Linked DNA regions of Homo sapiens: all the other regions are linked to region 1. The links are contacts of gene promoters, found by promoter capture Hi-C in blood cells and fetal thymus (Javierre and others, 2016). All regions are on one chromosome and are shown on one strand. Each heading gives the region's core, a stretch centred on a gene start or on the middle of the fragment in contact. The rest is flanking DNA. Distances are from core to core; before and after follow the strand shown. Region 1 holds the start of LINC01590 (long intergenic non-protein coding RNA 1590). Region 2 overlaps RNGTT (RNA guanylyltransferase and 5'-phosphatase). Region 3 overlaps RNGTT (RNA guanylyltransferase and 5'-phosphatase). Region 4 overlaps RNGTT (RNA guanylyltransferase and 5'-phosphatase). Region 5 overlaps RNGTT (RNA guanylyltransferase and 5'-phosphatase). Region 6 overlaps RNGTT (RNA guanylyltransferase and 5'-phosphatase). Region 7 overlaps RNGTT (RNA guanylyltransferase and 5'-phosphatase).

Region 1 (2,839 bases), core at 214-2,713:
TGGTTCAACAATTGTACTCCAGTAAAAAGATCAGTGGTTGCCAGGGGTTGGGGGAAGGGAGGGATGATAGAGCACAGAGCATTTTTATAACAGTAAAACTATTCTGTATGATACTGTAATGGTGGATACCTGTCCTTATACATTTGTCCCAACCCATAGATTCCACGGCACCAAGAGTGAATCCTAAACTATGGACTTCAGGTGATAATGATGGGTTCATCAATTATAACATGTGCCACCGTGGTGCAGGATGTCAGTAGCCAGGGAGGTTAGGTGTGTGGGGATAGGGATAGACGGGAACTTTGTACTTTCTACTCAATACTGCTGTGAACCTAAAATTGCTCTAAAAAATAAAATTTATTAATTTTTTTAAAAGTGGGGACAAAGTCTTCCCTGGAACCTGTCACAAGACATGCCTATGACATGCTTTTGGTGTCTACATATCAAGCCAGCTTTTTTCCACTTAATTAACATCTCATATTCATTAAACAATTATTAATAAAATACCTACCATGGGATAGGCATTGTTCTAGGTACTAGGAATAAAGTAGCAAATGAAGCAGATATTTAAAAACTCAGATATTTCACATCTGGGAATCTGAATAAATTACATGCGATACAAAAAATTCTTATACTCAAATAACTCCACTGTTATTTATAATGGTGAAAACTTGAAAATATACTACATAATAGTGGGAATACTTCAGTAAATTATGACACATCCACTCAATTGCATATTATACAGCTATTAAAAATACAGCCCATAATAAGATATAAAAATGTCTGTGTTGTAATGTTGACTGTAAAGGAGTAACATAAGATATGGTAAGAATGTAGATAAGGTGAGTCATTACATGAACATGTTAACAACATTAATCCTTTGTTAATGAATCTATGGGTGGCAGATTTGTACTCCCAAATTTTCATAAAGAGCATGTCTTATTTTTATAATGGAAAATGTCCCAATAAAATATTTTTAAGCCTAGACACTTAATATTTGAATTGACTAGCCAAATCTTCATGCTTTTAATGTCGTAGGTGTGTATCTAATAATTGCTGAAGCTGGAATTTCCTTCGTGTGCAGTCAGCCACACCTCGCTATACCTGTCAAACCATCTCAATTATCCACTCCAATTGTCATGCCTCTCGTGGGTTAGTTGTAAATGGAACACAACTCTAGCATGACATTGCGACTTAAAAGAGCATATCCAGTATTTCGATGATCATTCTGGAAATATATTTCCTCTTCAAAGTTTTTACCTGTCAGTGAGGCATTTAAATTGGGGCATTCTCTTGTTTCTGAAGTCTGATAAAATCTTGACCTTAGAATATTTATTGGTAATATTTATTCATTCACAAAATTAGTTCTTAGCATATCCTATATGTCAGGCATTAGTCTAGAGCTGGGGCTAGAAAAATGAATAAGATTGGGTTCCTGACCCCAGCCCAGGCTCACACTGTAGTAAAGGGAAACAGACATGAACACTAGGTGACATGGAGTGTTAGGGGCGCTATGGTAGAAGTCTGCAGAGAGTGCAATGGGCGTCCAAATGAGGAAGTGATCACTTGCACAAGAGTGGGAGGCTTGGCTGGAAAGGCTTCTCTGAATAGGATGACATTTGATCTGTGTTTTGAAGGGCATCGTTGGCAAGGTAAGTAATCCAATTAAAGGAGGTTGCCTCAGCTAAAGCACAGTATGCTCAAAGGTGCGGATCATTTGAAAATTTGAGTTCAGGTGCAGTAGGGGTAAGGTAAGTATCCAACAGAATTTTCTACAATGATGGAAATGTTCTATATTGTCACTGTCCAATACGGTAGCCTCTAGCCACATTTGGCCAGTACAACTGAAGAATTGAATATTAACTTTCATTTAATTCTAGCTAATTTAAATTTAAATAGTTTCATCAGTTAGTGGCTACCATATTGAACAGTGCAGGTTTAGAGATAAACAGAGGCCAGTTGCAGGAGGGTCTTGCATCCCATTGAGGAGGACTGAATTTTCTTCTGCAGGGCCTTCTGTGGTCTGCAGAAAGGGCAGTACACAGGCAGTAATATTATCAGCTTTGCCTGTGGGAGTGCCCCAGCCTGGAAGCAGATAATACAGTTAGGAGATTCCCATAACCTGCCTGAGTGAGAGCATTAGTAATTAGGGAAGGAAATGGATGTGAGACTTGCTGAGAAGGGCTGGACAGGCTTAGTGACAGGTCTGAGTGTGAGGGGAGAGGGAGTGGGGGAAGTGGGATCAGGTTTGAGCCAGCTATTAAATCAATGCCAATTCATCCCATAAAGAATGCAGAGAGTGGGACAGGTTTGGAGAGTGTAAGGAACATGGCTGTGCTGTAGCCAAGCAGGCATAGGGTAGCAGGAATAGGCCGAGGTAAACAGCCTAGACATCTCAGCGGGATTGGGGTGCAAGTGCACAGTCCTGTGTCTTATATAGTCACAGCCATGTAGGCATAACATAGAGCAGCTCCCCACCTGGCTCTCAGCCACTAGTGTTTGTGTAGTGTATAAATGTAACACTGACCCTGTGAAGGGGCTGCTGAATAAAGCCATGTCTCATTTACCTGCTGTCTCTCCAGTGTTCTTCCAGCTCCCTGCCCCACATCCACCCACTGTCCTCAGACCTCAGCTGGGGCTGCACCCCAACCCTGAGTGTGACAGAGAGAAGATGAGTGTTAGAGATCATGATCCTGAAGTGCTGACGAGAAATTCAGGTGAGTTATTACTATCTTTCTTTCTTTTTCTTTTCTTTTCTTTTTTTGAGATGGAGTCTTGCACTCTGTCTCCCAGGCTGGAGTGCAATGGCGTGATCTTGGCTCACCCCAACCTCCGCTTC
Region 2 (2,839 bases), core at 104-2,603, 1.5 Mb after region 1:
GAAGGGATGTTGATTCTTATCAAATGCTTTGTCTGACTCTATTGAGATGATCACATGGTGTTTGTCCTTCATTCTATTGATGTAATGTATCATATTTATTGATTTGCATATGCTGAACCATCATTGCATCAGAGATACTGGCCTGTTTTCTCTTTTTGTTGTGGTTTTGGTATAAACATAATGCTAGCTTTACAGAATGAGTTAGAATTCCCTCCTCTTCAATCTTTTCAGGATTATTTGAGGATTGGTGTTAGTTCTTCCTTAAAAGTTTGGTAGAATTTGGTGGTGAAGGCATCCGGTCCTAGACTTTTTGTTGGGAAATGTTTCATTACTGATTAAATCTCCCTACCTGTTATTGGTCTGCTCAGCTTTTCTATTTCTTCCTGATTCAATCTTGGTAGGTTGCATATATCTAGGAACTTATCCACCTCTGCCAGGTTTTCCAGTTAGTGTATACTTGTTCATAATAGTCTTTGATGGGCCAGGCACGGTGGCTCACGCCTGTAATCCCAACACTTTAAGAGGCCGAAGCGGGCAGATCACGTGAGGTCAGGAGTTCCGAGACCAGTCTGACCACCATGAAGAAACCCCATCTCAACTAAAAAATACAAAAAATTAGCCAGGCGCAGTGGCACATGCCTGTAATCCCAGCTACTCAGGAGGCTGAAGTAGAAGAATCACTTGAACCTGGGAGTGGAGGTCACAGTGAACTGAGATCCCACCATTGCACTCCAGCCTAGGCAACAAGAGCAAAACTCCATCTCAAAAAAAAAAAATAGTCTCTGATGATCTTTTGTATTTCTGTGGTATCAACTGTAATATTCTCTTTCTCATTTCTGATTTAGTTTACTTGGGTCTTGTTTTTCTTGGTTGGTCTAGCAATGGATTTATTGATTTGGTTTATCCTTTCAAAAAAACCAACTTTTCATTTTGTTGATTCTTTGTATTTTTTTTTTTAGTGTCTATTTTGTTTAGTTCTGCTCTGATCTTTATTATTTCTTTCCTTCTACAAATTTTTGGTTTGTTCTTGCCTTTCTAGTTCCTTGTGGTGCATCATTATTTATCTGAATCCTTCTACATTTTTGATGTAGGCAATTATTGCTATAAACTTCCTTCTTAGCACTGCTTTGCTGTACTTCTTAGGTTTTGGTATGTTGTGTTTCAATTTTCATGTGTTTCAAGAGGTTTATTTCCACCTTAATTTCTTCCTTGACCAAATGGTCATTCAGGAGCATGTTTAATTTCCATGTATTTGTACAATTTCCAAAGTCCCTTATTATTGACTTCTAGCTTTTCTACCATTGTGGTCTAAGAAGGTATGTGATATGATTTTGACTTTTTTATTTGTTAAGGCTTGTTTTGTGTCCTAACATATGGTCTATCCTAGAGATTGTTCCATTTCCTCACAAGAAAAATGTGTATTCTATAGCTACTGGATGAAATGTTCTGTAAATGTCTGTTAGGTCCATTTAGTCTAATGTGCACTTTAAATCCAATGTTTGTTAATTTTCTGTCTTGACAATCTGTCTAATGATGACAGTGGGGTGCTGAAGTCTCCAACTACTATTATACGGGAGACTGTATCTCCATTTAGATATAATAATATTTGCTTTATATATCTGGGTACTCTGATGTTGAGTGCATATATGTTTAGAATTGTTATATCCTCTTGCCAAACTGATCCTTTTATCATTATATAATGACCTTCTTGATCTCCTTTTACTGTTTTTGACTTAAAGTCTGTTTTATCTGATATAAGTTTAGCTACTCCTGCTCACCTTTGGTTTCCATGTGCATGGAACACTTTTTCCATCCCTTTACTTTCAGTCTATGTGTGTCTTTACAGTTGAGATGAGTTTCTTGTAGGCAGCATATGGATAAGTCGTGTTTCTATATCCATTCGGCCAGTTTACATCTTTTAAATGGAAAGTGTAATCCACTTACATTCAAGGTTATTATTAATATGTGAAGGCTTATTCCTGTCATTTTATTAATTTCTGGTTGTTTTGTATATTCTTTGTCCTTTCTTTCTCTCTTATTGTTTCATCTTTGTGGTTTGGTGGTATTGTGTAGTGGTAACATTTGAGTTTTTCCCCCTTCATTGTTGATGTGTTTGCTCTGTCAGTGGTTTTTATTTATATTTTTGTGTTTTCATGATGGTGGTTACTAGTCTTTCAATTTCAGGTACAGGACTGTCTAACGCATTTCTTACAGGACCAGTCCAGTTGTGGTGAATTCCCTCAGCTTTTGCTTGTCTGGGAAAGACTTTATTTCTCCTTCATTTATGAAGAAAGAATAACTTTGCTGGGTATGGTATCCTTGGGTGGTAGGCGTTTTCTTTCAGAACTTTGAATATATCCTCTACTCTCGCTTGGCCTATAAGGTTTTTCCTGTGAAGTCCACTATTAGTCTAATGGGAGCTCTCTTATAAATGACTAGACACTCTTAATGTTTTTTGAATTTTCTCTTTGACTTTTAACAGTTTGACTATAACGCGTTGTGGAGAAGACCTTTTTAGATATTATCTTTTGTGGGATCTTTGATCCTCTTGGATGTCTAAACCTCTTGTTAAACTTAGAAAGTTTTAATCTATTATTTCATTAAATAGGTTTTCTAACCCTTTTGTTCTCTCTTCATCTTCTGGAACACCAAAAATTTGAATATTTGGCCACTTTCTGGTGTCCTATATCTCAAGAAGGCTTTGCTCATTCTTTTTTAGCATTTTATCTTTATTTTTGTCTTACTAGGTTACTTCCAAAGACCTGTCTTCAAGTTCTGAGATTCTTTCTTCTGCCTGATCTAGTCTATTATTGAAGCTTTGATCTATTTTCTATTTCAT
Region 3 (2,839 bases), core at 125-2,624, 1.5 Mb after region 1:
GGGTCAAAATCCTAAAAAAACCTGTGAAACATACTAAAGATTATAAAGGCAATGGAGATATAGTAAAGAATTTTAAGCATGGCAATAAAATTATCAGAGTTTAGAAAAACCACTCCCACGGCTGATTATAGCTCTGGCCTGTAATCCCCACCCCAGCACTTTGGGAGGCTGAGGGTGGCGGATCACTTGAGGCCAGGAGTTCAAAATCAGCCTGGCCAACATGGAGAAACCTCATCTCTACTAAAAATAGAAAAATTAACTGGGGTTGGTGGCGGTTGCCTGTAATCCCAGCTACTCGGGAGGCTGCGGCAGGAGAATCGCGTGAGCCCAGGAGGCAGAGATTGCAGTGAGCTGAGATCATGCCACTGCACTCTAGCCTGGGCGACAGAGCGAGACACCATCTCAAAAAAAAGACTGAGAATGAACCATGATGGGCTTCAAAGAACAAAAACACAGGGTCATGTATGCCAAGTAAAGGAAATTTTCTAAGTTATGAGTGCTTAGATGTCACATAATGATTAGAATGGAAAATCACTATTTGATTAAGAGTGCTAGCCAGGTGCAGTGGCTCATGCCTGTAATCCCTGCACTTTAGGAGGCCGAGGCGGGAATATCACTTGAGGCCAGGAGTTCAAGACCAGCCTGGACAACACAGTATGACCCTGTCTCTACAAAAAATAAAATTTAAAAAATAGCCAGGCATGGTGGCAAGTGCCTGTAGTACCAGCTACTCGGGAGGTTGAGGTGGGAAGATTGCTCGAGACCAGGAGGTCGAGGATGCAGTGAGCTATGATTGCACCACTGCACTCCAGCCTGGATGACTGAGTGAGACACAGTCTTAAAAAGCAAACAAACAAAAAACAGTGCTGAGGGAGGACTCCAGACTGCAACAAAGTGGATAGGAAAAAATGGATTCAAGTATAGATTCTTTTAAAAAGTCAGCTGAGAAAGGGAAGAGGGAATGCAAAACAGAAAGAAGGGTACGGGGTTTTTTTCAGCGGGAGGGGATTATTTAACAAGTTTAGGTATGTTTACAGGCTCAGGACAAGAACCTAGTTAAACCACAAAGCTTGACAATAATAGAAACGATATAAGTGAAATTAAGTTTCTGAAAGAAGAAAATAAAAAACAAAGAGATCAGCCTTGAACTGAAGACATCACTTAGAAATAAATAGCTATGACCAAGAAAATCTATAAATTCCATTATCTCCATTGCTTTGTAAGAAAAAGTGCTTCAAAAAAGCCACACAAAGATGTGCACTATAAACACATTTTTGTATTCATGTATCTTAACCCAACATGTAAATTTCCTTACTATCTTCTATTTCAGACCAATTCAAGCAACAAATATTTCAACTTTCGATGTTTCTCACCTAAGCTACTGTTTTTGTATCCAATTTTTACTCTTGCAAGATTAAATATTTTTATGAATAGGAAATGTAATAATAATTGCCAATTAGCTAATATGTCATGTGAAGATATGTAATCTAGGAAAGTACCATTTTCCTTTTAATATTCTTTATATGCAAATACAAAAAGTCTTAGTCTAATGGTTCAGTTATACATCAAAACATTTATAGATAGGGTTATAAAGTTACAAAACCATCAAAACAAACCACTATAGAAAAATGTGGGAGATTATGTATTTGATATTAAAAAATCCATTAATTAGGTATACTACAAGCTTAGATACGTCTTCAGTTTTTGTTTAAAGCAATTTTCAGTTTTCTTCATCATGAGAATGGGTCCATCTAGTGGTAAGTAAGCCACAGTTTTTAACTAAATATTAGCTCACAATTAACTATTTCAAGGCAACTTCTATTCAAATTTTTCCAGGCAAGCTAATATAATGAAATAAATGTATATGGCATTTACAATCAAACTAGGGAAAGAAACTCCCCAACAAATAGACAGAGAGATTAGCTATAGCTATACATGTTGGGGCAGTTTATAAAGGGGCTGGTGACAATGTATCTTTTTAAATAAAGCCTGATCTCAACATACACTATTTTGGAGGGTGTGGGGGGTATAGACAGGGTCTCTCTATGTTGCCAAGGCTGGTCTTGAACTCCTGGGCTCAAGAGATCCTTGGCCTTGGTCTTCTGGGATTGTAGGCATGAGCCACCACACCTGGCCCACAATTTTATTTCTATCTCACTAGCTAGATAAATTTTTTAATGCTAAAAATCCTAATTATTTGATCAGTCTAATTAGGTCAGTAGTTCTTTTTTTTTTTTTTTTTTTTTTTTTTGAGACGGAGTTTTGTTCTTTTTGCCCAGGCTGGAGTGCAATGGAGCAATCTCGGCTCACTACAACCTCTACCTCAGCCTCCTGAGTACCTGGGATTACAGGCATGCGCCACCACGCCTGGCTAATTTTGTATTTTTAGTAGAGACAGGGTTTCACCATGGTGGTCAGGCTGGTCTCAAACTCTGACCTCAGGTGATCCACCCGCCTCGGCCTCCCAAAGTGTTGGGATTACAGGCGTGAGCCACTGCACCGAGGATTCAGTAGTTCTCAACTGGGGAAGATTTTGCCCCCCAGGGGACATTTTGTAATGTCTAGAGACAATTTTAATTGTTACAATTTGTGGGATGAAGTTGAAGTCCAGCCTGAACAACATAGCCAGACCTGGTCTCTAAAAAATTATTTAATATAATACAATAAAGGCAAAAAAAATTAATGCAGTTGTTCCTCAGACTCCTCAGGGGATTGGTTCTGGGATCCCCCTCAGATACCAAAATCCTCCGATGCTCAGTGCTCAAGTGCCTTGTATAAAATGGCATAGTATTTGCATATGACCTATGAACATCCTGCCGTTTTCTTTGAATCACCTCTA
Region 4 (2,839 bases), core at 148-2,647, 1.5 Mb after region 1:
CTAAAACTAACATGTCACTATAAACTCTTTTACTGTCACTCTGCTCACTTTTCAATTTCACCAAGACTAACAGTCCCTTCATTTCTCCTTTACATATTCTAACAGCACCCTCATCCTGACCTTACTTCCTATTCAGCCTAGAACCTATGGCTGATTACTTCAATTATTTTTCCTCTGACAGCCTCAGTGCCCCTTACCCTCTTGTTCTTCATCACACCCAAACTGAATTTCTCCAGCCTTGAGTCAACCTACCGTTAGTCTTTTCCACTCTCATACATAGGCAGCTGAAACTTACTGAGGAAAAAATCACAATCTCAATTACATCTCCAGTACTAAGAAAGATATTTCCCTCCTATTGCTGAAGACCTATTACTCCAAAAACTGCATTTGACCTCCATTCCCTTGCACTTCCTCAGAGATTTCTCTATCATTATTCCCCAAATCTTTACTTTCAACTTCATTGACTTCACTAGCTCCTTATCCACACTAATAAATATGCTTGAATTTATCCCATACTAAAAAGCCTTTTCTGACTATGTCTGCATCAATTACCCTTCTGCTCCTTTTTTTATCATAACCAAGCCACTTGAATGAATAGTTTATAGTAGTGTGCAGAAAAGGGTTAACCTAACACTAGTGCTTGCAAAGTTGGCTCCTGAATGGCACCTGAGAACTTGACTTTTGGAGTGTTCTCAGTCAACTGATAAGGATGGCTCACCAAACCTAGATTACTTGTCCCAAAAATACAGTTTATGCTGAATAAATTTTTTTCCTCCTGGAATCCTGGAATTTTGCTACATGCTAAGCACAGAGTGCCTACATGACCGGCCATCAATAAAAATCTTGAGCAGTGAGAGTGTAATGAGCTTCCATGGACAGAAACATCACAAATACATTGCTGCAGGAAGAGTGAGCTCAGGATGACCCCTCATGAGAAAAAGAGAGCACAAGAAAGCCTACACATTAACTCCCCCCAGACTCTACTTGTCTTTGTCTCTTATGATTGAGCTGTATATCCTTAGTACGTTGCTGTATAAATCTGAGTTATGAGTACAACCATATGCTGAGTCCTGAGTTATTCTAATAAATCTCCAGAAGTGAGGGTGGTACAGGGAACCCCTAACACAACTCAGTCTCCACTTTCTCGCCTTCCATTAGCTTCTTAAAATTACCAGTCTGACCCAGCCCTACTGCACCACAGAAAATAATCCTCAGATAAATACTTTCCGTCCTTATTGAATTTTGTCCTCTCCATGAAATCATACTGTTAAATTGCTCCCTTTAAGTTAATTCTAAACTATTTCTCATATTTTACATTTCTTTTGTCTTTTCATGCTGCATGCTGGAAGGATTTCATAGCTAGATCCTCTAGCTTGATAATTTCATTCTGCTACTCATCCCACATACTAAGTGGTTTTTTAATCTTATCATTTCCAAGATCTCTAATTTGTTCCTCTTCTTAATAGCCTGCTATTATTTTATGGATTGATAGCCTCTCTTGTCTTCTAAAGAAAGGTTCTATTTGCTTTCTCAAATAGAAAAATTTTTAATTTTTCCTTTCTTAGTATATCTAGTATTACTTTTATATAGGACTTAATTTTTACAATATATAATTTTTAGTATATATACTGTGTGTGTGTGTGTATATATATATATTATATATATGTATCTCCCCAGTATATATTCTTCTACACTAAGTTATTCTTCTATACTATGTTTTCTGTGCATATGCAAAGAAATAACCAAAAAGTACAGAGCAAATGGCTTGGGAATGAAGAAATATTTTGCCTTTTAACTCTATATACTCCTAGATGTTTGCATTTATATTTTACAAAAAAAAAAAAACTCATCTTTAAGTCATCTGTGTATGTTTTAAAGCTAAATAAATAAGTAAATAGGGAAAAATTATTCTAAAAAGACAACAATACCAATGGTAGTATGAAAGTTGAAGGATTATAAGTTTTCTTTCGTTTTCAAACTTTCTTTAATAAACTAAAGATTAATGTTCTTTCATCTTTAATATATTACTTATATGAGTAAAATATTTAATAATTTTAGGATTTACTAATTATGGTTTGAAAAAAGAAAAAACTACCAAAAGGCATAAGGTTTTAGAACTTTTTTTTTTTCCTAATTCGGCCTTTGGAGGTATAAGCACAAATATTCTCAAAAATCACCAACTCATAACAGAAATCAAGACTAATTGCTTTCTCCAAAAAGAGAGAAAGAAGGTTTCGGCTTTTTTTTTTTGAGACAGCCTATCACTCTGTCACCTAGGTTGAAGTGCAGGTGAATGCAGTGACATGATCACAGCTCACTGACTGCAGTCTCAACCTCCCAGGCTCAAGCAATCCACCCCACCTCAGCCTCATAAGTAGCTGAGACTACAAGTGCACACCACCACACCTGGCTAATTTTTTAATTTTTTGTAGATACGAGGTCTCACTACGTTGCCCAGGCTAGTCTCAAACTCCTGAGCTCAAGCAATCCTTCCGCCTCGGCCTCCCAAAGTGCTGAGATTACAGGTGTGAGCAACTGCACCCAGCCTAATTAGACTAACTTTGTAGCCACAAAAAAAAAAGCTGGACAATGTTAAAGAATTCATTTGAAGACCTCAGAGAATTAGAAAGGCAATAAGGACTTGAAGGGCCAAAAACTCAGGAGGAAGGGAGGCCAGAGAGGTGAGCTAGACATCTTCTACAGCTTTTCCTTTCTAGTACTCTCCTCTAGAGGCACTGTTTCAAAAATGGTAGCTAAGACACTAAGAAGCTGAACAGAAATTTCAGTAATATCACAGCAATGGGAAATAAAAGCTGGAGTTACAGGTCTTCAAGTGGAA
Region 5 (2,839 bases), core at 135-2,634, 1.5 Mb after region 1:
GCTTTTCAAAAGCAGCAATTCCTGGTGGATAGAGAGAATCTAAGCTACTTGGAAGAAGTAAGCTTTGCCTTGGATTATGTTTCAAAAGGAATTTAAATCAACAAAAGGGAAGATCAAATAAAAAGCAATGATGACATCATCTGCAAAAATGGCATGGAAGACACACAACCCATCATGTTGTTAAGGACTTAGGCTGGCATTTTGCAAAGCTGATATTCACCAAAAGGGTATTTCAAGGCAAATAAGTTAGGAAACCACTGTATCTTTCTCTTAGAACGTCAAGATATATATTAGGATATTTAAAGTTATGATAAAATATATAAATAAATCTGTTCATCTTATTTAGTCCATTGTTTCCTAAACTTAATCCTGATATCTGTTAAAATTTGACAGAATTGGTATTCTATACTTACAATTTGAGAAAAGCTGACTTAAGCTAATAAATGTTAGAATTCAGAAAAAAGAAATGGTTTACTCTTATGATCATGTAATAATGATAACTGAAATTATATTTCCCCTTTCACTGACTGCCCAGAAGTTGAGAATTTTAAATTTAATGTTTAAACACAATAGGTATTATCCCAGGGTGAAGATGTATTTATTTTACACACACACACACACACACATCTTAGTATCAGACCTTTTCTTTTAAATCAAGTAGAGTATCAATCAAAAGAAAATATTTTCTATGCACACATGTGTATAAACAGATTTAAAAGACTAAGGAAGAAAAAGCTTTAGAGGACGGGATTTACAAAAGGATAGCTTCTGCATCTGCAGAAACACCAGAGAAATTATTTAGCACTTGGTATTTAGGGATTCTTCTGCACACATAAATTTTCAGGCTTTGGAACACAAGTTCCTGAGCTATGATTTTTAGTTTGAACTCCAGTCATTCCAAATCATATGTTCTTTTGTTATGCGATACTAACAAAAAGTAAGGAGCTATTTCATGTAAGGAATGTGGAAATATTTCCACATCACTCCAAAGTCCCTGAAAGCAGCCAGATTCTTTAAAAAGAAGCAACTACCTCACAAACTGTCAGATACTGCCTTAGTATATAACTATGATGCAATATAATTTCTTATTAATTAGGAAATTATCTCAACTGCAAATTTAATATTCAGAATTATCAATAGGTATTTGTATTATATTCATTCATTCCCATTAAAAGGCAAAATTTAATTCAGTATACGTTTCCCAGATAGAAAATGCTAAAGTATATAAACCAAAGGTATATGGATTACAGAAAAGCCAGATGTATAGACTACTTTACTGTAAATGCAGGTTTTCTACCAAAACTGGAAATAATCTTTCAGAGCAGTTGCTGAGATGTGAGATATATAATTAAGTAAAACAACCAAATATACATTAATAAAATTAGGAAGTACATAATTAAAGAGAAGGAAAACTGACAGAAAACAATGGTAACTAATACCACCTTAGAGTCCTAATTCACATTCCTCCCAGTAGTCTGAGAGTAAAATGGTCGTTAAACTCCTGGTAATTTAAAGTTATCACCAATTTAGACCCAACTCTGATCATCAATTCAGGAATTTATCTTATACTCTATGAAGGCAGAAATCCTATCTATTTTGTTCCTTCTCACAGCTTAAGTATCTTGCACAGTCTACCTGAATACACACTAAAGGAAGGCACTCAATATTTGTTAAGCAAAGCTGTATGTACAACAAAGTTCATCATAATATTTTATAACAGTGAAAGGATAAAAACTCAAATGTCCATCATTCAGCAAATAGGTAAAATAAATATTGCATATTCATGTAAAAGCATACTAGTCAAGCATTTTTTAAACAATGATAAAAATATTCATTAATATGGAAAGAGATTTACAATATATTTAGTGGGAAAAAAGCAAGTTTAAAACCAGAATACATTAAATAATTACAGAGGAAAGGAGGAGGACAAAACTGTATGTATATCGTAAATATAGAGTAAAGCCTATACCAAAATAGTAAGAGCTGCCCCATCTCTATGTATTAGAATTATCAATGATATTTGCTTTCCTCATTAAGCTTTTCTGTACTTTCAAAATTTTTAGAAATAAACACAAATTGCTTTTAGACACAGGGGGCAAAATTAAAGCTTTACAAGGGGGAAAAAAGCCACCAAGCCAGAAATGTAGTCTATAATCAGACCCAGAGAAACATTTTCCCTTTGCAAAGTGGCAATGAATTAAGACAGGATTCTAACCCTTGTTCTTTGTACCACAGTGGCTTCAAAACAACAGATATTCCTCTTCTTCTGTCATACAGCCTCCATACTAGAGCATTTTGATGGGCAATAAAAACAGAAAAGCTGATCATTTACATTGATTTATTTCACCACCATCTCTATCTCTATCCATTTTTCCTAGCCCCTATCAAACTTATTATGGCTTTTCTCTTAAATTTTTTAATCAATTATTTTTTAAAATATAAGTTAAAGGGCCGACCTGGAGCCAGTCTAGATGCTAGGCAGTACTAGATGCTAGGGTTATAACAGCAAATGGCACAGACTCTCTTCTCAACTTCACATCATTTACACTCTTAAAAAGAAAACAAGATATTAAATAATTCCAACCATAATACATATTAGAACAGTGAAGAAGAAGCTATTACAGGAGCCTACAAAGGTAGAGCCTGTCAGAGTTTGGAGATCATGGAAGGCATTCCAGAGGAATTCATGCATAGCTGATAATAACAACAGGTTACACTTACTGAGCAATTACTATGTTCTGAAGAAAAGAGCACTTTTATTAACTCATTTATTAACTCATTTAATCCTTACAACAACCTCACCAGGTCAGTAAAATTATTATCCCCATTTTCCAGATGA
Region 6 (2,839 bases), core at 206-2,705, 1.4 Mb after region 1:
AGCCAGGCATGGTGGCATGCACCTAAGTCGCAGCTACTCAGGAGGCTGAGGCAGAAGGATCATTTGAGCCCCAGAGGTTGCAGCTGCAATGAGTCCTGATTGCACCACTGCACTCCAACCTGGGCAACAGAATTAGATATCGCCTAACAAAAGCAAAAAAAAATTTTTTACCCATTTTTATAATAAAAAAAATTAAGAAAAAGGTTACAAATCAACGACCTCAACTTCCACTTTAAGAAAGTAAGGAGAACTGTAAAGAATTTCATAATCTCAGATATAAAAAATAGCCAGTTGGGCTGAGATAGTGTACACAATAAAAACAACTTCTCCCCTCCTAAGGCTAAGACCGGACTTCACTGAAGACGGAACAGCCATAGCTCACTGGATGGTGAAGCTGATGAAATGTCCCAGCTGCCTTTAAAGATGGAAGTTGTATCAAAGCAGTATGTCCAAATTTAGCATACTGAGTAATAGGTAGGAATGAATTTCCAAATTTCAAAATTAAGTCGCTGAGATGAAAATTTCAAAGAAATTGAGAGGCCAAGGTTGTAAGTCAAACCAAACATTGGGAAGTGTATTCAGCAACGATGATGGGCAGCCTTTGAGAGAAGAGTCTGTCAGGCACAGTCTCCATGAAAAAAAGGAGTTAGCAAAAAGTCAAAAAGAGAGTCTCAATGTGCTTAAAATAGCACGACTTGAAAAGTCAGGTTTTATTTAATAATTTAAATAACAGATATAATTTTAAACTCACTTTGATATTCTTTTGTGTCTGATATTACATTCAAAAAATAACCTACTGTTTCTTTTTCTCCTTTTCTATATATAAAGTAAAACTTATTCATGAGTTGCACTGGTATCCTAATGTAAGAAGTACTAAGCTAAGTTTTTCATAGATAATTCACTGGTTGATTAACATCCCAATAAAAATACAATTGCATGCAGTGTTCATGAGATAGATATTTCCTGACTGCCTTCCAATGCTAGAAACCAAGCCAGCATTAGGACATGCTAATGGGATATGAGGACCCAATAACAACATAAGCCTTGGCCAATGTGCCTAAATAATACCTTAATTTCAATTTGACAGTAAAAACATTTAAATGTGATGACATAATTACAATTTCTCCTTGTCAATCTTTCTTCAGAAACGTGGTTCTACTTAAATTACCCTAGATGTTTTTAAAACACTTCTAACAAATAAAAGAATCTTAATTTAGAAATGGTTAATTGAAAAATCTTGGAGAAATTTAAAGTGGAATATCTGGTCAATCACCCTAAACTAGGATACAATCCTTTTCAGAATTACAATTTTCTTGATAATTTTCCCTCCAGACAAAATTCGAAGATAATTGGATGAAAAGTAAAACAGTAGACATTATATATCAATTTTTAATAAAGCATGATACTTTTCATAAGGTTTTTCCTATAAAACTTAAATTTGCTTACTTATGAACATAATCTTATCTTTGAATACCATCTGAAATATCCTACAGAGGGCATGTAGCATGGACCAAAGATTGGAGGAACTGACAAAGGTTACCATATGATTGACTCTGAGTTGATGTTTTATGTCTATGAATCATGATGTAACCGAAAACCAAGTTGTTATAAATGCATAAGCAGAGAAACATAATGCAAAAGGCTTGACATTAGAAACATGAGAAATAAAATAGAAACTGCAAAGTTACAAAGCATAGAAAGGAGCCTTTTAAAAATAATAAGCAAAATGACAGCTTAAGACTACAGTGAAGAAGAAACTCAATCTCCAATGTTATTAGAAATACGAATTGGCAATATCAATTCATTATAGTATGGAAAATATACCAATGGAATACTTAAAAAAGAATAAACTACCTCCACCTTTCAGTTCTGGTCTATTCTACTCAGACATCTTCTGAGCAGATATTCCCACAAAGCCTCAACTCATTGCCTGAGAATACTCAATATAGTAACTTCTATCTCTTGACTCTTTTATGTGCTTTCATAACTCCCCACAAATCCAAGGTTTAGTTTTAAAACCCCCCCAAAAATGGAAATTTGCACTCCCCTGGATACTAATCTTTATTGGTTTTCAATCCCAAATTCTAACTTCTAGTTCAGGTTAGGATTATTCAATGCTTCTGTACTCTGAATGTCCTTCTAATCAGTAAATAATAATCCTACAAGTCATCCTTCTTGCTCATCACAAAGCCAACATCATTATCTTCTTTTAAAAAAGAATGACTTGATTGCCACTATTTACCAATAGTGCCTAAACAACTATGTCATTCAAGTTAGCTAATCAAAATATAAATCGCTTTTGCAATACTATTGTTGGCTCTTTCATTAACCAATATTATTGCAATTAAAAAGAGGCATAATAATTCTGGTGAATCCTATTTGACAAGTTAGAAAATCTCAAACAAAATTTCTCTAGAAAATATACCCTCTTAATTTTGGTTGCCGTTAGTCTTATTTTTACCAAAATCCCTTCATAGATCCACAAAGAAGTAGTCAACCACATCCTCATGGAACAATAAAAGTTCTTTTCATCAGATTTCTAATTATTCTTTTTTATTTCATAATTTAGGCATCATTCACTCATTCAACAAACATTCACTTAGTACCAATAAGTGACAACCACTGTGTTAAGTGTTTGAGATGTAAAAGAGTTTACTCCATGTCTATCTTGGAAGAGCAGGTGGCAGGGTCTAGTGGGGAGACCCCAAACTCAAATGTCTATACGTGCCAGGCCATAACCTGAACTGGACAGGGTATACAGTAAGACGGACGCGTGAGACCAACTGGAGAAGACATCCTCATCTACAAGCAGTCAAATTCAACATTGTTTACATATCAT
Region 7 (2,839 bases), core at 125-2,624, 1.3 Mb after region 1:
TATGGTATTTTGTTATGGTAGCTCAAGGAGACTAAGACAAACATGAATGCAAATATCCTCAACAAATTATTACCAATGTTAAATCCAACAATGTATAAAAAGAATTGTACAGTACCCTAAGAAGGGGAGAGTGTAACTTTTCAGTGTTTAAGTGTAGGCTTCACATAGTGATTTCCTTCCAAAGAGTACAGTATGAAAAGGAGGAAGAAATGGGTTATCTTTAAAATGGAGAAAACTCACAAACCCTACTTTAGCCAGGTGGTCAAGGTCAACATCAAAAATCATAAAATCATGTTCATAGTATGTACTCTTGATACAGTGTGATAGAAATCGCACTTCATCTGTGATCTTCTTTCCCTAAACCCATACCCCAAGTCTGATTATGAGAAAAACAAGAGACAAATTCTAAATGAGGAGCATCCTATAATACATTTGAGCAGTGCTTCTCACAACTGGCAATGTCATTAAAAACGCGGAAAGTATGAGAAAATGTCACAGCCAAGAGTACCCTAAGGAGATATGACAACTAAATGTAATGCAGTATTCTAGATGGGATCCTGGAAAAGAAAAAGGACATCAAGTAAAAACTAAGGAAATCTGAATAAGCTACAGACCTTAGTTAAAAATAACACACCAAGTCTGGCAAACATGTGAAACCCTGTCTCTACCAAATAATACAAAAATTAGCTGGGCATGGTGGCACATGCCTGTAAGTCCTAGCTACTCAGAAGGCTGAGGCAAGAGAATCTCTTGAACCTGGCAGGCAGAGGTTGCAGTGAGCCAAGATGGCACCACTGTACTCCAGCCTGGGTGACAGAGTGAGACCCCGTCTCAAAACATAAATAAATAAATAATAACATACCAATATTGGTTCATTAATTGTAATAAATGTGCCATGTTAATAATAGGGTACACTGTTTGTGGGGGGCCCAAGAGGTGTATATGGGAACTTTCTGTTCTATTAATATCTACTCAATTTTTCTGTAAATTTAAAACTGTTCTGGAAACTAAAGTCTATAAATAAAATACACACACACACACACACACACACACACACCCCTTCCAAAACAGGAAGAAATAATGCATTCACATAAAAGAAATTTTAAAATGAATGATGTATAAATAATTACTAAATTAAAATTCTTAATGTAAAATAATTATATCTTAAAATTATTCCTTACTTTAGAAAACTGACACCAATTTATACTTTATGTTATTAATGTATGTGATGCAATTATATAAAGAAGATAAAAAAACTTTCTCAAATTTTCACTGTAGCCAACAGAAATCATTAAAAAGCTTGATTAAATGAGATAATGTATATAAACTACATACAAGGGAAATCAAGCATATTAGAAGCATTAAACACACAAATGATACTATTCTTATTATTAACAAGCTGGTAAGACAAAAGGTGAAGCAAATTTATGGAACCAAGAACTCTTCTAAGAAGCTTATTAAATTAGAGGATTCTTCATGTTGGGCCAATACCCAGCAATTCACAGTTTAAACACTTCCAGCTGGTAAGTGTTTTTTTGAGGCAAGCAAGGGAAATGAAGAACAAAGGGAGAAGGCAAAACTAAGAGAAAACAGCTTTCCTGTAACACTAAAGAAATTCAAAAGCATCATTAAATAAATACAGAAACACAGAAAAACATCACTGGAATAATAGAGCAGAAAAATTTTAAGTAAACTTATGTTTATGTATGAAAACAAGAAAGTAATTAGAGAGCTTTTGCTTTTAGGAACTATTTTCTAACATGTGACAAAGACAGGCTCAAAAAATATCTCATCACATACAGAACAGATTGAAAATACTTTAAAATGTTAAAAATGTTTATAATTCTGTCAGTTCAAATTTCACACTTTGGAATTAGGATATATTTCTCCCGTGTAACTGGTGTGAAAAAAATTATATATATATATATATATATATATATATATATATATATATATATATATATATGTTAACACATGCTCCATTTATCTAAACTAACATTGTTTAATTTTATTATACCAAGCAAATAGAAAATTTGAACTACTATATGAAGCTCCCATGAGGATTTATCCTTTAGATATAATTTATGGAATAGCAGAATTAATTTTTTAAAGTAATACATAAAATATGTCTACTAATTAATACCATCTTAGAGGAATCAATAAAATTCATTTATCAGTTATCTTCCATTCTGCTGACACCAAAGATATCATCCTACTCTTCTTCCAGAGAAACAAATTTTTCCTAAAATCACAATGTTCCTTTTTCAGAAGCAGGAAGAGAAAATTCTAAGAGAAGAAAGTAAAGGAATTCTGTGAAACAAGTAGGAAAGAATACTCAGGAGAAAGCAAGAGGGCTACTCTAGAGTTTACACCTGCTCAGAAAGGGAACAGCAGAATTAAAAGCGATCAAAAAATGAAAACGGGATCAGGCATGGTGGCTCATGCCTTTAATCCTAGCACTTTGGGGGGGCCGAGGCAGGAGAATCGCTTGAGCCCAGAATTTGAGACCAGCATGGACAACATAGTAAGACCTCGTCTCTACAAAAAATTAAAAAATTAGCCAAGCATAGTAGCACACACCTGTGGTCCCAGCTACTCGAGAGGCTGAGGTAAAGAGGATCACTTGAGTCTGGGAGGTCAAGGCTGCAGTGAGCTGTGATCAAATCACTGCACTCCAGCCTGGGTAACAGACACCCTGTCTCAAAAAAACAAAAAAACAAGAAAGGAAAGAAAGAGAAAAAAGAAAAGAATAAGAATAAGATGCAGCCATAAAAATGAATGAGATCATGTCCTTTGCAGGGACATGGATGAAGCTGGAAGCCATCACCCTCAGCAAACT

What was found. Contacts are between HindIII fragments. The CHiCAGO score rates a contact against its expected background, and 5 or more counts as called.
Region 2: a contact is called between a fragment that was not itself captured here and the fragment with the promoter of LINC01590 in region 1, in 1 of 17 cell types (naive CD8 T cells). The highest score is 5.5, in naive CD8 T cells.
Region 3: a contact is called between a fragment that was not itself captured here and the fragment with the promoter of LINC01590 in region 1, in 6 of 17 cell types (naive B cells, non-activated CD4 T cells, total CD4 T cells and 3 more). The highest score is 7.5, in naive B cells.
Region 4: a contact is called between a fragment that was not itself captured here and the fragment with the promoter of LINC01590 in region 1, in 6 of 17 cell types (naive B cells, activated CD4 T cells, total CD8 T cells and 3 more). The highest score is 7.9, in naive B cells.
Region 5: a fragment that was not itself captured here is called in contact with the fragment with the promoter of LINC01590 in region 1 in 14 of 17 cell types (naive B cells, total CD4 T cells, total B cells and 11 more); the score reaches 21.4 in naive B cells.
Region 6: a fragment that was not itself captured here is called in contact with the fragment with the promoter of LINC01590 in region 1 in 4 of 17 cell types (naive CD8 T cells, non-activated CD4 T cells, naive B cells and 1 more); the score reaches 9.2 in naive CD8 T cells.
Region 7: a contact is called between a fragment that was not itself captured here and the fragment with the promoter of LINC01590 in region 1, in 5 of 17 cell types (fetal thymus, total B cells, naive CD8 T cells and 2 more). The highest score is 7.8, in fetal thymus.

Annotation. Positions count from the first base shown.
Region 1 is chr6:87,395,661-87,398,499 of GRCh38, forward strand. It overlaps LINC01590 (long intergenic non-protein coding RNA 1590), which reads left to right and starts at 1,464. Exons shown (of 2, transcript NR_026784.1): 1 at 1,464-2,717. The HindIII fragment of the contact is 8,043 bases long and covers 1-2,839 here.
Region 2 is chr6:88,936,582-88,939,420 of GRCh38, forward strand. All of the region lies in intron 2 of RNGTT (RNA guanylyltransferase and 5'-phosphatase), which reads right to left. Among named protein-coding and RNA genes, the nearest start is that of RNGTT, 26 kb to the right of the region's middle. The HindIII fragment of the contact is 2,921 bases long and covers 1-2,814 here.
Region 3 is chr6:88,917,483-88,920,321 of GRCh38, forward strand. The region is part of intron 4 of RNGTT (RNA guanylyltransferase and 5'-phosphatase); the gene reads right to left. Among named protein-coding and RNA genes, the nearest start is that of RNGTT, 45 kb to the right of the region's middle. The HindIII fragment of the contact is 615 bases long and covers 1,068-1,682 here.
Region 4 is chr6:88,897,031-88,899,869 of GRCh38, forward strand. All of the region lies in intron 6 of RNGTT (RNA guanylyltransferase and 5'-phosphatase), which reads right to left. Among named protein-coding and RNA genes, the nearest start is that of RNGTT, 65 kb to the right of the region's middle. The HindIII fragment of the contact is 3,959 bases long and covers 1-2,839 here.
Region 5 is chr6:88,855,813-88,858,651 of GRCh38, forward strand. The region is part of intron 8 of RNGTT (RNA guanylyltransferase and 5'-phosphatase); the gene reads right to left. Among named protein-coding and RNA genes, the nearest start is that of RNGTT, 110 kb to the right of the region's middle. The HindIII fragment of the contact is 1,302 bases long and covers 734-2,035 here.
Region 6 is chr6:88,809,902-88,812,740 of GRCh38, forward strand. The region is part of intron 11 of RNGTT (RNA guanylyltransferase and 5'-phosphatase); the gene reads right to left. Among named protein-coding and RNA genes, the nearest start is that of RNGTT, 150 kb to the right of the region's middle. The HindIII fragment of the contact is 4,264 bases long and covers 1-2,839 here.
Region 7 is chr6:88,737,813-88,740,651 of GRCh38, forward strand. All of the region lies in intron 13 of RNGTT (RNA guanylyltransferase and 5'-phosphatase), which reads right to left. Among named protein-coding and RNA genes, the nearest start is that of RNGTT, 220 kb to the right of the region's middle. The HindIII fragment of the contact is 154 bases long and covers 1,298-1,451 here.